Regions from separate parts of the Homo sapiens genome. Here region 2 is linked to region 1. Evidence: promoter capture Hi-C in human tissues and cell types (Jung and others, 2019). All regions are on one chromosome and are shown on one strand. The core of a region is centred on a gene start or on the middle of the fragment in contact, and the rest is flanking DNA. Distances in the headings are between cores, read along the strand shown. Region 1 holds the start of ANKRD66 (ankyrin repeat domain 66). Region 2 overlaps RCAN2 (regulator of calcineurin 2).

The links. The method cuts DNA at HindIII sites, captures the fragments that hold promoters and counts their contacts. A contact is called where the count stands out against the background at its distance.
Region 2: a contact is called between a fragment that was not itself captured here and the fragment with the promoter of ANKRD66 in region 1, in 1 of the 25 tissues and cell types used here (IMR-90 fibroblasts).

The regions. Positions count from the first base shown.
Region 1 is chr6:46,743,313-46,749,233 of GRCh38, reverse strand. It overlaps ANKRD66 (ankyrin repeat domain 66), which reads right to left and starts at 2,301. Exons shown (of 5, transcript NM_001162435.3): 1 at 2,244-2,301. The HindIII fragment of the contact is 7,862 bases long and covers 1-5,921 here.
Region 2 is chr6:46,403,291-46,409,211 of GRCh38, reverse strand. The region is part of intron 2 of RCAN2 (regulator of calcineurin 2); the gene reads left to right. Among named protein-coding and RNA genes, the nearest start is that of RCAN2, 85 kb to the left of the region's middle. RefSeq lists an enhancer at 3,257-3,757. The HindIII fragment of the contact is 6,383 bases long and covers 1-5,705 here.

The DNA.
Region 1 (5,921 bases), core at 1,052-3,551:
TCCACTGCTCAGTCCCAGCAGTTGCCACCAGCAGAGTCTCCATTGTGTAGGTGGTGACCAGCAGGGCCTGGGCAGTGGCCAGGCACAGCTGTGGGCTGCTGAGGGGCCAGCAGGGGCAGAGGGCATTGCCTGGGCTTGCTCTGGGAGTCTCACTGTGCTATCCCATGGAGGTTCAACACCTTAAATGGTGACCACGGGCCTACGAAAGTGGGGTGAGCCAGATTTGGCCTGTAGACCATAGTGTGCTAGCCTCTGATATAGGCAAATCATTAGAGACCTTGTTAAAATGCAGATTCTGATTTAGTAGGTCTGGAACCTGGCCTGAGATTCTGCATTGTAACAAGTTCTCACAACGGTACTAGCTCACTTACCACACTCTGAGTAGCAATATCTTTGTGGCTGAAAAGTAAGGTATAGACTGGCTGGAAGCAAAATTGGAGAGCTGAGGAGGGAGTAAGGATGTGGCAGCTGTTCTCAACTGAGGGGATACATGAGAATCAGCAGTGGATTTTCAAAAATACAGATGCCTGGGCCTCAGTCCAAAAGGAATCAGAATCTTTGGGTGTGCAGGACAAGGATTGGGCATGTTTTGTGAAGTAGATGCTCTGTACATACTATGTTAGGTAAAAGAGAAGATGGCACAGACTGCATTTTACTTTCAAAATTCATTTTAATAGAAATCCCTTACACTGGAGTGTTTGATCAATGATAGAATAGTAAACAAAAATGCTAGAGTGTTTCTAATCTGAGGGTGCCACTAAAATAAAACCATTTTTTAAATCAGTATCTAGAAGTTTTTCGCTTGCCTTTCATAGAGGCCTTTAAGCAGGTGTACATTTCAACTAACCCCATTTGTCCCACATTTGAGTTCATGCCAAGATTCCATAACTTTCCATGGGTGAGTTGCAATTCAAGTGGAAGCATTAGGCAGCAAAATTTATTTCCAGAGAAATGGAAAAGCCGATTCTAAAAAATCATATGGAAATGCAAGGGACCCAGAAGAAAACAATCTTGAAAGAGAGCAAAGTTAGAGGACTCACACTTCCTGATTCCAATAAGTATGCCAGGAAAATTCAGTGACAACATAATAGTCTTTTCAATAAATGATGCTGAGACAACTGGATATCTACAGCTAAAAGAATGAAGTTGGTCCTCTCCCTCACAAAGATGTATTCCTGTGTTTTCCTCTAAGAGTTTTATAGTTTTAAGACTTACTTTTAGGTCTGTGATCCGTTTTGAGTTAATTTTTATACTTGACAACAATTGCCACAAAACAATTGAACATAAATATAAGGGTTTTTTCTAGACTCTCAGATCTACTCCGTTGCTCTAAATATCTATCTTTATGCTAGTACTACACAGTCCTGATTACTGCAGGTTTGTAGTAAGTTTTGAAATGGGAAAGTCTGAGTATTCCAATGAGCTATATACCCAAGAGAAGAAAAACATATATCCATATAAACATTTGTACATGTATGTTCTTAGAAGCATTATTTATAAGAGGCAAAAGTGGAAACATCCCAAAGGTTCATCAATAGATGAATAGATACACAAAATGTGGAATATCCATATAAAGCATTCTTATTTGGCAATAAAAAGGAATGAAGTACTGATACATACTTTATGGATGAACCTTGAAACATGCTAAGTGAAAGAAGCCAGTTACAGAAGACCACATATTGCATACCTCCATGTATGTGGAATGCCCAGAATAAGCAAATCTAGATAGCTAGAATGTAGACTATAGGCAGCCTAGGGCTGCGATGGAGGTTGGGGTGGGGAGTGACTGCTGATAAGTACAGGATTTCTTTTTGGGGTGATGAAATGTTCTTAAATTAGATTAGATGCTTTCACAACTCCAAAAGGCCCAAAACCACTGAATTCTACATTTTAAATGAATCCAGTTTTATGGTATGTGAATTGTATTTTAACAAAGCTGCTTTACAAAAAACTATTAATTAGAAGCTTTCTACAAAACAAAAACAAACACAATTTGTTTGCAGAAAATATATACAACTCACTAGCTTGGCATTGACTACTGAAATTTATCAATTGGTTCCTTTAGTAACCAATCCTTGTGAATTTGATTAAATGCACTTGATTTCCTATCTTTCTGGTAGAGGCACATCTACCATAAAGATAGGAAATCAAGTGCAAAGTAGTCAATAAATATCAGTTTTAATAAATGTGAGTGATTTTTAATAACTATAGTAAATAAGAGAGGGTAACTTAAAAACACTTACTGTCTTGTGTGAAATTTGAGGAGCTCTGTGCTGACAGGCAGTCCTAACCATCCGGAGTGTTGTGTCCATGCCATGGAAACTGACTCCTCCTTCTGCATGAAAGCCAGCCAGTCAACTTCAGCTTCCCTAGGTGTCTGGTGGGGTGGGATTGCCAGTCTGCTTCACACCCTAACTCTTCAGCAGTTCCAGCCATCTTTTTTAGTCCAAATGTGTTGGCCCTTAACAGGTTCTTTCAAATAGTATTTAATGCAAAAAATAAAAGTAAAATAAAATTTAAAAAGCTGTGAATGATTGTCTGCCCACATAATACTGTGACGGAGGTAGGCTGCTTACAGACCACATAACCATAAGAGATGTGAGACCTGTGGGGGAGTGGGGACAGTGTGGGCTCCTCACATTCAGAAGCAGCTGTCAGGTCTTGGGCAAGTTCCTTAACTTTAGAGAGGCTTTTTTCTTTTCTTTTTTTTTTTTCTCACCAATAACATGAAATTTTAACATCTTTTTTTTATAGTGCTATTAAATATGACTAGCTAAAATAATTTAGAAAACACTTGGCACAGGGTAGATGCTTTTACAAAAAGAAGAAGAAGAAGGAGGAGAAGGAGGAGGAGGAGGAGGAGAAGGAGAAGGAGAAGGAGAAGGAGAACCAAATAAAAATTCCTAGGTGCTTTCTTTTTGCTTCCTCTTTTTACCCCTTGCTCTAAGCGAAAATCTACCATATTGATGATGATGCTGGTCAAAAAGACCTTATTTCTTCTTCCTCTCTTTCTACATTTTCCCTGCCTTTTCCCTCTCTCCTTCCTTTTCTTTTTCCCTTTCTCTGAAGGGAGTTCCTCTCTCTCACTCTCTCTCTCTTACTATCTTTCCCACCTCCCTCATTCTCCATCCATTTCTCTCCCTGCCTTTCTTCCCATATGTATTTAGTGAATGCCTTATATCTGTCAAGCACCACTGTACTGGGCCCTGTGAAGATCAAGATACCCATTGTTCCTGTCGTCCTTGAGCTTTTGGTCTAGATAAGAATAAACAAGAAAACAAATAAACGTACACAAGTAGACTCACAACCTGTACGAGTACAATGAACAAACAACATACAATAGCAGAGAACACCAGGAAAGGAGTATGGGCAACTTAGGGGATGACATTTGAGGGTCTGAGGGGAGACCTGGCAGAGCAGAAGAAATCAGGCATCTGAAGAGCTAGGAAGATGACCTAGGTAGAGGGAGGGGAGGAGCTTGGCTTAGGTGAAGAATGAAGAAGAGGAGGATGCAGCTGGTTTATGCAGTGTGGGGCAAGTAGAAGATGAGATCATTCCCGGTCTACTAGGACATGGTAAGGAGTTTGGATTGTATTCCAAGTACAACGAGTAGACATTGGAAGCACTTAAACAACGAAGAAGAATGTGCAACTTTTATTTTCTTAAAAGACTACTTTGACTATTATGTGGAAAATGGAGCAAAAGGAGACAAGATTGAAAGCAGGAAGATTGCTGAGGAGGCTACCGTGGAAGTCCAGACAAGAAAGGATGGTGACTTGGTGAACTGTGGCCATAGAGATGAAAGAAGTGAGTGAAATTAAAAGTTTTTTAGGAGGGAACATTGATGGAAGTTGCCAATGGATTAGACATGAGTACTGGGGGGAAAGAGGGCATCAAGGATGATCCTCAGGTTTCTGGCTTGACGAACCTGGTGGAAGGTGCTCACATTCGTGGTAGGAGGTGACTAGGGTAGGGCCAGGTTTGGGTAAGGGAAGGACAGTATAAATGAAGCGTTCTGTTTCAATGTGTTAAGTTTGAGATACCTATGAGACACCCAAATATCAAGTAGGAATCCAGAGTTCTGTGACTTTGGGCTAAAGATACATATTCTGGAGTTATCAGCACATAGGTGACATTTAAAGATGTAAGAGTATATAAGATAATCTAAGGATAGCAAATGCAGAGAGGAGACCCAAGCTCTGAGGCCCTTAGATCTGGCAGCAAAGAATAATTAGCAAAGGTTATTAAGAAGCACCACTGAGAGGTAGGAGGGAAACCAGGAGAACTGAGTCTTACAGAAGCCAAGAGGAGAAGAATGTGGTTATAAGGAGTAGCTGTCAACCATGTAAAAGGGAGTAGAGTTTAATGTGTAACTATCACAAGCCAGAAAGATGCATATGAGACCCCTTCCCCACCCTCAAAGAGCTCAGTGTCTCATCACCCTTTCTGAGATTTGTAACAGTTCTGGTTCAGCTTGATTTCATTGAACAAATACTTGATGGGTAACTAGTATGTGTTGATGCAAGGGTACAGAAACAGAGGTCTTACCCTCAAAGAGCTTGTAATAAGGGACGATGGTAAAAAGTTGCATGCGTCTGGGGCCTCACCTTCTCTTACACCCTCTCACAGGTTTCCTTCCCATAATAACACGTGTCTGACATCTAATTTCTTGACAAGCCATGAACTGGCCAGAGAGTGAGGCAACCAAAGGGAGAGGCCCCCAGGATTTCCCCAGGATTTTCCACAAGTCAAGAGTGAGCTACTTCCACTATACTAAAAGAAAGAAGAAGAAGAAGAAGAAGAAGAAGAAGAAGAAGAAGAAGAAGAAGAAGAAGAAGAAGAAGAAGAAGAAGAAGAAGAAGAAAAAGAAGAAGAAGAGGAAGAGGAAGAGGAAGAGGAAGAAGAAGAAGGAGAAGGAGAAGGAGAAGGAGAAGGAGAAGAAGAAGGAGAAGGAGAAGGAGAAGAAGAAGAAGAAGAAGAGACAAAAAAGGTGCAAAATATTGTAGTATGTTTTGAATAAAAAAATAAAATTTTGACATAATACACAGGGCTATATAAAAATAAGGCCAAAATGAATCTTGATCTTATGAAAATATTAATTATTTGTTAACTACAAGTAGTAGGGTCTGCTAATGTGATATTCAGTTTGTATGATATATGTTTCTCAGTGCTCTTAGTGTGCCTTTGTGACTGAATGAAGGTCAAAAGTCTACATTCAACAGTCTCTCACCTATCCTGCAACAGGTCACAGAGGCCACCTGGGGAAATATCGATGGGCCAGTCATTGATCTTTGGTCCCATTGGCTCAAGCACTGGGACTAAAGTTTCTGGATAAGGTGACTTCCATGAGACCTTTTTTCCATAGAATCAAAGTCATTTTTAGATCAGGAAGAAACTCTGGAAATAATGAATCCAAAACTCATTTAACAGGTGAGAATATTGAGAGCCATTGACATTAAATTATTTATTTAAAGTAACACTGCTACTGTGTTTTCATTCATCTCTTACCACCTCCCCCACCCCAGCTAAGTTCAACATACAGAATAGATGCACAGCAACTGCATGTTAAGGGTTCAGTTCAGGGTTCAGTGTTCAGGGTTCAGGGTTGAGTGGGTGTGGTCTGGGCAGCACTGCCATCCATGAGCTGCTGACTCATGTTTGGGACACTGAGACTTGATTCTCTCCTACCTCCTTCCAATTCTAAAGAGGATGATAATAATAACAAACCTGTATAGTCTTTGTTCTAAGTACTTTAAAACACATTAACAAATTTATTTCTGTGGGGCAGTTACACTTATTATGCCTACTTTACAGAAGCAAAAACAAAGGCACGTAGTAATCAAGTTACTTCCTTAAGTTTACAAAGCTAGCTGTGGGACAGTTCTGGTAGTTTGGTTGCAATATCCATGTTCTTATCTACT
Region 2 (5,921 bases), core at 1,265-3,764, 340 kb after region 1:
ATGGAACTCGGTGGTTAAATGAGAACCTTGAGAAATCATGTTAGACCATTTCGTTTCTTTAAACAGAATTGTTAATATTTGTGTCTTCCCCTAAAGACTCCTAAGGGAAAAACAACATTTTCCTTCAAGTAAATCAGTATATATGGAATCTATTTTATTAGTATAATTTAAAAACACATCTTAGATAGTGGCAAATGATCTTCATTTGGTTTTTGCAGTTTGATATGTCTCTATGAAATTTATATACCCTAAAATGTCTCCCAAGACCCAGCATTTTATTTAATGACTGGCCTTTCCTTAGCTCATACTTCATTTTCTGACATGTAAGAACAATGTGTAGGAGTAAACAGGATACCAGGCATCCATGGAAGGATGATATTTTTCTTGGCCAAACTATCTCCTGTTGGAAAAATAAAAATAAAAACAAAACAAATAGAAATTTTTGTTTCCTTGCCAAGCCTCTAACCAGTTTTTTTTAAATTATTATTCCTTATTGTCTGGTATTCATGGTGGTTGGATAACTCAGTCAGATAGAGAACCAAGGCAGAGAGGCCAAGGAGCTGGGTTCCTTCTCTTTGTGGGCTGGCAGCTTTGCTCCGTTTGGGTGGCAGGAATCTGTAGCCAAATCTTGGTCAATGCACTAAGAGTCCTAGTGGCAGTGCCTAGCATCTGTCTTTCACCATTACTAGAAAACAGTAACAATGCTGGGAATATTGCAATGACATAGAGAATCTTCTATATGTGAAGGGCAGCACATCCAGCTCTTCTTTTGCAATATAGAGAAGTCAGGCTAAAGTGCTCAGCTAGTTAGTCCCCGGCATCCAAAGCAGGACAAAGAGAACCCGTGTTGCTGTGTGAGCGACTCGCCAGCTGGTACCATCTGCAGCAGGTTGCCACAAAGAGCCTGCAGTCATCACAGCTGTTTAGCCTCATATCGGATGGCTCTAAACATGTAAACAGGTACCTGAGCAAAATTATGTAGAGCTGAACAGTCGGAGCCGCCCGCAGGGAAGTAATAGGAGCATTGTCGAAGGACTTTAAAAGGCTCTCTCCTTGAGGTATCTGACAGAGGCGCCCTTGAAAACATAAAATATTCGTGATTCCAGAAGGACTCTGACCAGAAAATCCTCAGAAGTTGTTTTATAAGCAGCTTCCCTCCTGAGGGAATAATCATGGATTTTGTAAATATCCATCTCAACATACTGATGACTGAAAAATCAAAGCTGCTGTTTTCCAGATGGACAATTTCAGTGCTGGATGGCATTTGAACTTCCAGTTACTCATTCTGTTTATAATCCTTTGGGGCATGCCAAGTTTTTAATTTTTACGTAGCACTCCATCAATCTTTTTCTTTTTACTCTTTCTCTTTTTGGAGGCACGCTTCTAAAGGTCTGCTGCATAGCAAAATTATGCAATCTCACCTTTAGGCTAAGGTTTGGGTTTCCAAACTTGGTTAAATATAAAATTATAAAATCACCTAAGTACATATTTCCTGACCCTGTTGCAAAGTAGGACATTGATGTATATGAAATAAAATGATGCACAATTAGCCATTTGGAAATGGATTCCCTTCTCTCAACTCTACCTATATTTTTACCACCTCATCCTCCAAGATGCACTCCTTCCATAAAGCAGTTGCCCATAGCAAGACGAGCTCTTTCATTTTTCCAAAGTATGTATTTTTCTGCTTTTACTACTACTGTTTGAATGTGAACTTTTAAAGATGGGATCTTTGCCTGAGTCGGCTTGGAATTTTCCATGGGGACTTGCGTAAAACAACTGTTTTAAAAATGTTTACATCATCACTGGCTTTTTCATGGGAAATCAAGACTTCATTTTTGCTAAGATCTTTGTATGAGTGGTTGCTGCCTGCATAGAAAGGATGTGATTTTTAAAAACAGCAGTATATACTGCTCTTGATTGACTGCATTAGCTTTGTACCTGGTTTCATCTAAATTTAGCTCTACCAAAGGTCCTGAAAGGGAACTCTCCCTGTGTTGTGTTTCTGTGTGCTGATTTTTATCTCCTGTGGTGCTTCTCCCTCTTTTCTACTCCCCTGCCAGGCTATGGCTCCTTTACCAAACAGTTCAGTGATATGAGTTGACTAGGAAAATAGCCCCTGAATGCCTTCCAGGCACTGGGGCACAGTAAGAGTCTCAGTTCCATGCCCCAGGAGCTCAGACTTTGCTTTGGGGTTTTGGAGTCCATTTTAGAAGTCTCTGTCACCTTATCAGACAGGAAAGGTCTGGAGGGACCAGTTTGGGGGTATTTGTTACTGAATCGCCCAGCACATAATTGTGTACCCAGTCTTCTACTGAAATATTGTAATTTTTATCTTGGGGAAGCTATCTGCTACCTGTCTAAGTTTTTGTAACATAAAGAAATGAGAATAAAATATAAAATGTCAGGGATTAAAGGGCTGTCGTTTACACTGAAAGTTCCCTGATAATTTATAGCCAAGCCATTCAAGGAAGTAGCCTCTATAAGTACATAATGGGTCTTTCAAAGTGTTCACTGCCAATTTATGGTAAAGCAAAGGCTTTTCTAAAAGAAGAACATTGAAACCTGTTTCTCTCTGAGTTACTTGTAAGCATTAAGAAAAAAGAGAGCTGACAGAAACATTTTCTTTTAATTGCCCTAAAATTCAAATAGCTGTCCTTGGTCTCCTATCAAAATCATTAATGCCTTGAAGGCTGAGTGATCAGTGAGGACTGAACCAAGGGTTTATTGCTTTGATAAACACATTTGAACCCTAAGAAAGAAATGAAAACAGACCAAAAAATAGCTGCCAGAACTTAATGAGATTTGGAGGAGTGACTTTATTTGGGAAAATTAGGTCATATATATACATTTTAAAATTTGAGTATGCATGGAGACCCTTTTGAGAGGTGACAGCGTGCTGGCACTCCTCAGAGCCCTCGCTTGCTCTCGGCGCCTCCTCTGCCTGGGTTCCCACTTTGGCGGCACTTGAGGGGCCCTTTGGCCCGCCGCTGCACTGTGAGAGCCCCTTTCTGGGCTGGCCAAGGCCAGAGCCAGCTCCCTCAGCTTGCAGGGAGGTGTGGAGGGAGAGGCGCGAGCAGGAACCGGGGCTGCGCGCAGCGCTTGCGGGCCAGCTGGAGTTCTGGGTGGGCGTGGGCTTGGCGGGCCCCGCATTCGGAGCAGCCGGCCGGCCCTGCTGCCCCGGGCAGTGAGGGACTTAGCACCCGGGCCAGTGGCTGCGGAGGGTGTACTGGGTCCCCCAGCAGTGCCAACCCACCGGCGCTGTGCTCGATCTCTTGCCAGGCCTTAGCTGCCTTCCCGCGGGGCAGGGCTCGGGACCTGCAGCCTGCCATGCCTGAGCCTCCCACCCACTCCATGGGCTCCTGTGCGGCCCGAGCCTCCCAGAGGAGCACCACCCCCTGCTCCACGGCGCCCAGTCCCATGGACCACCCAAGGGCTGAGGAGTGCGAGCGCACGGTGCGGGACTGGCAGGCAGCTCCACCTGCAGCCCCGGTGCGAGATCTACTAGGTGAAGCCAGCTGGGCTCCTGAGTCTGGTGGGGACATGGAGTCTTTATGTCTAGCTCAGGGATTGTAAATACACCAATCAGCACCCTGTGTTTAGCTCAAGGTTTGTGAGTGCACCAATCGACACTCTGTATCTAGCTGCTCTGGTGGGGCCTTGGAGAACCTGTGTGTTGAAACTCTGTATCTAACTAATCTGATGGGGACGTGGAGAACCTTTATATCTAGCTCAAGGATTGTAAACGCACCAATCAGTGCCCTGACAAAACAGGCCACTGGGCTCTACCAATCAGCAGGATGTGGGTGGAGCCAGATAAGAGAATAAAAGCAGGCTGCCCAAGCCAGCAGTGGCAACCCGCTCGGGTCCCCTTCCACCCTGTGGAAGCTTTGTTCTTTCCCTCTTTGCAATAACTCTTGCTGCTGATCGCTCTTTGGGTCCACGCTGCTTTTATGAGCTGTAACACTCACGGTGAAGATCTGCAGCTTCACTCCTGTGCCCAGCGAGACCACAAACCCACCAGAAGGAAAAAACTCCGAACACATCTGAACATCAGAAGGGACAGACTCCAGATGCGCCGCCTTAAGAGCTGTAACACTCACCGCGAGGGTCCGCGGCTTCATTCTTGAAGTCGGTGAGATCAAGAACCCGCCAATTCTGGACACGCTTTCATCTATGTTTCCCCAACCCGTTATAAGATAGTAGTGTGAGTCTTAGCAGATTGCAATTTATCAGTGTCATATTTTATTGCAAAATGGTTTGCATTCACCTGTTGTTTAATCTTTACAATACACTCATGAGAACATAATTGGTTTTCTTCAGTACGTGGAAGAAGAAATAAAAACCTGTGGTGCAGTCATATATGGGTTATTTGCTTTTCCTATAGATTTCCATGGGGAAACTGATGTAGCAATGTGTTAAGAAATCTGATGATATCATATAATAAAGATTTCCTGGACTCTGACCTCCATTTCTCTACCAGGTTAGCCTCTATTTATTTATTTTTGTCTTAGTAACATTTAGCATCCAGCAATTTGTTTGTATCACATCTAAAAAGAAATTGGTAGACACAAGATCAATATATTTAGCTTATACCAAGAAATATATTTCTAGGCTATATTAAAGATATACATATTTTATGGTTTCTATTAAATTTCTAGAATAATTTTTGTTCAAACCCACATTTAAGAACTTGATATATAACGTATAGTAAGGTACTCTAGACCTGATTTGAGGATAAATGTTAACAAGAGTAGGGTTTCTACAACTTTAAAATGTTTTCAACAACTTTAATAAGAAGGGCCCCAATAACATGAACAAAAATATATTTAGGTACTTACTTTACCTGTAATGAATTACTTTTATGTAACACCATAGATGTAAATACTTGGTGGCTATAAAATTGTAAAGATTAATTTATCAAGTCAGCATGGTCTATGATCAAACAAGCACTCATTTCCCTCTTCCAAAATCACCTCTTTTTTTTTTTGAGACAGAGTCTTACTCTGTTGCCCACCCTGGAGTGCAATGGTGCAGTCTCAGCTCCCTGCAACCTCAGCCTCCCAGGTTCAAGCGATTCTCCTGCTTCAGCCTCCTGAGTAGCTGGGACTACAGGCACGCACCACCACACCTAGCTAATTTTTGTATTTTTAGTAGAGACGGGATTTCACCATGTTGGCCAGGCTGGTCTTGAACTCCTGACCTTAGGTGATCCACCCTCCTCGACCTCCCAAAGTGTTGGGATTACAGGCGTGAGCCAGCGCACCTGGCCTCCAAATCACCTCTTACACACCTTTCCACCCCACCTCTTATGACACAAATGAGGATCCAACCTCACCTCATCGGCCCAGAACACCTACTGTTTCTGGAACACTCTACAATTATCCAAGGAGTTTTTTATAAAACTTTTTTTTGTAAAACGTTTTTTACTATTAATAACTCACTTTGTGTAGAGATTTATTTTAAACAGCAGGAGCAGGTAAAGCTAGATAGGAATGAAAAATATTTTCTAGATTCTGTCCTTTGTTGGTAGATTCTGCTAACCTTATCTAACCAGCAGGTCTTAAAAAGCCTGAAGATCCAGGATCAAGAATCAACTAACAGCTCTCTGGCTTGCAGAATTTTTTTTTTTTTTTTTTGATACGGAGTTTCGCTCTTGTTGCCCAGGCTGGAGTACAATAGCATGATCTTGGCTCACTATAACCTCCACCTCCCAGGTTCAAGCAATTCTCCTGCCTCAGCCTCCCAAGTAACTGGGATTATAGGCATGTGCCACCATGCCCAGCTAATTTTGTTTTTTTAGCAGAGACAGGGTTTCTCCATGTTGGTCAGGCTGGTCTTGAACTCCTGACCTCAGGTGATCCACCTGCCTCTGCCTCTCAAAGTGCTGGGATTACAGGTGTGAGCCATCGTGCCCAGCC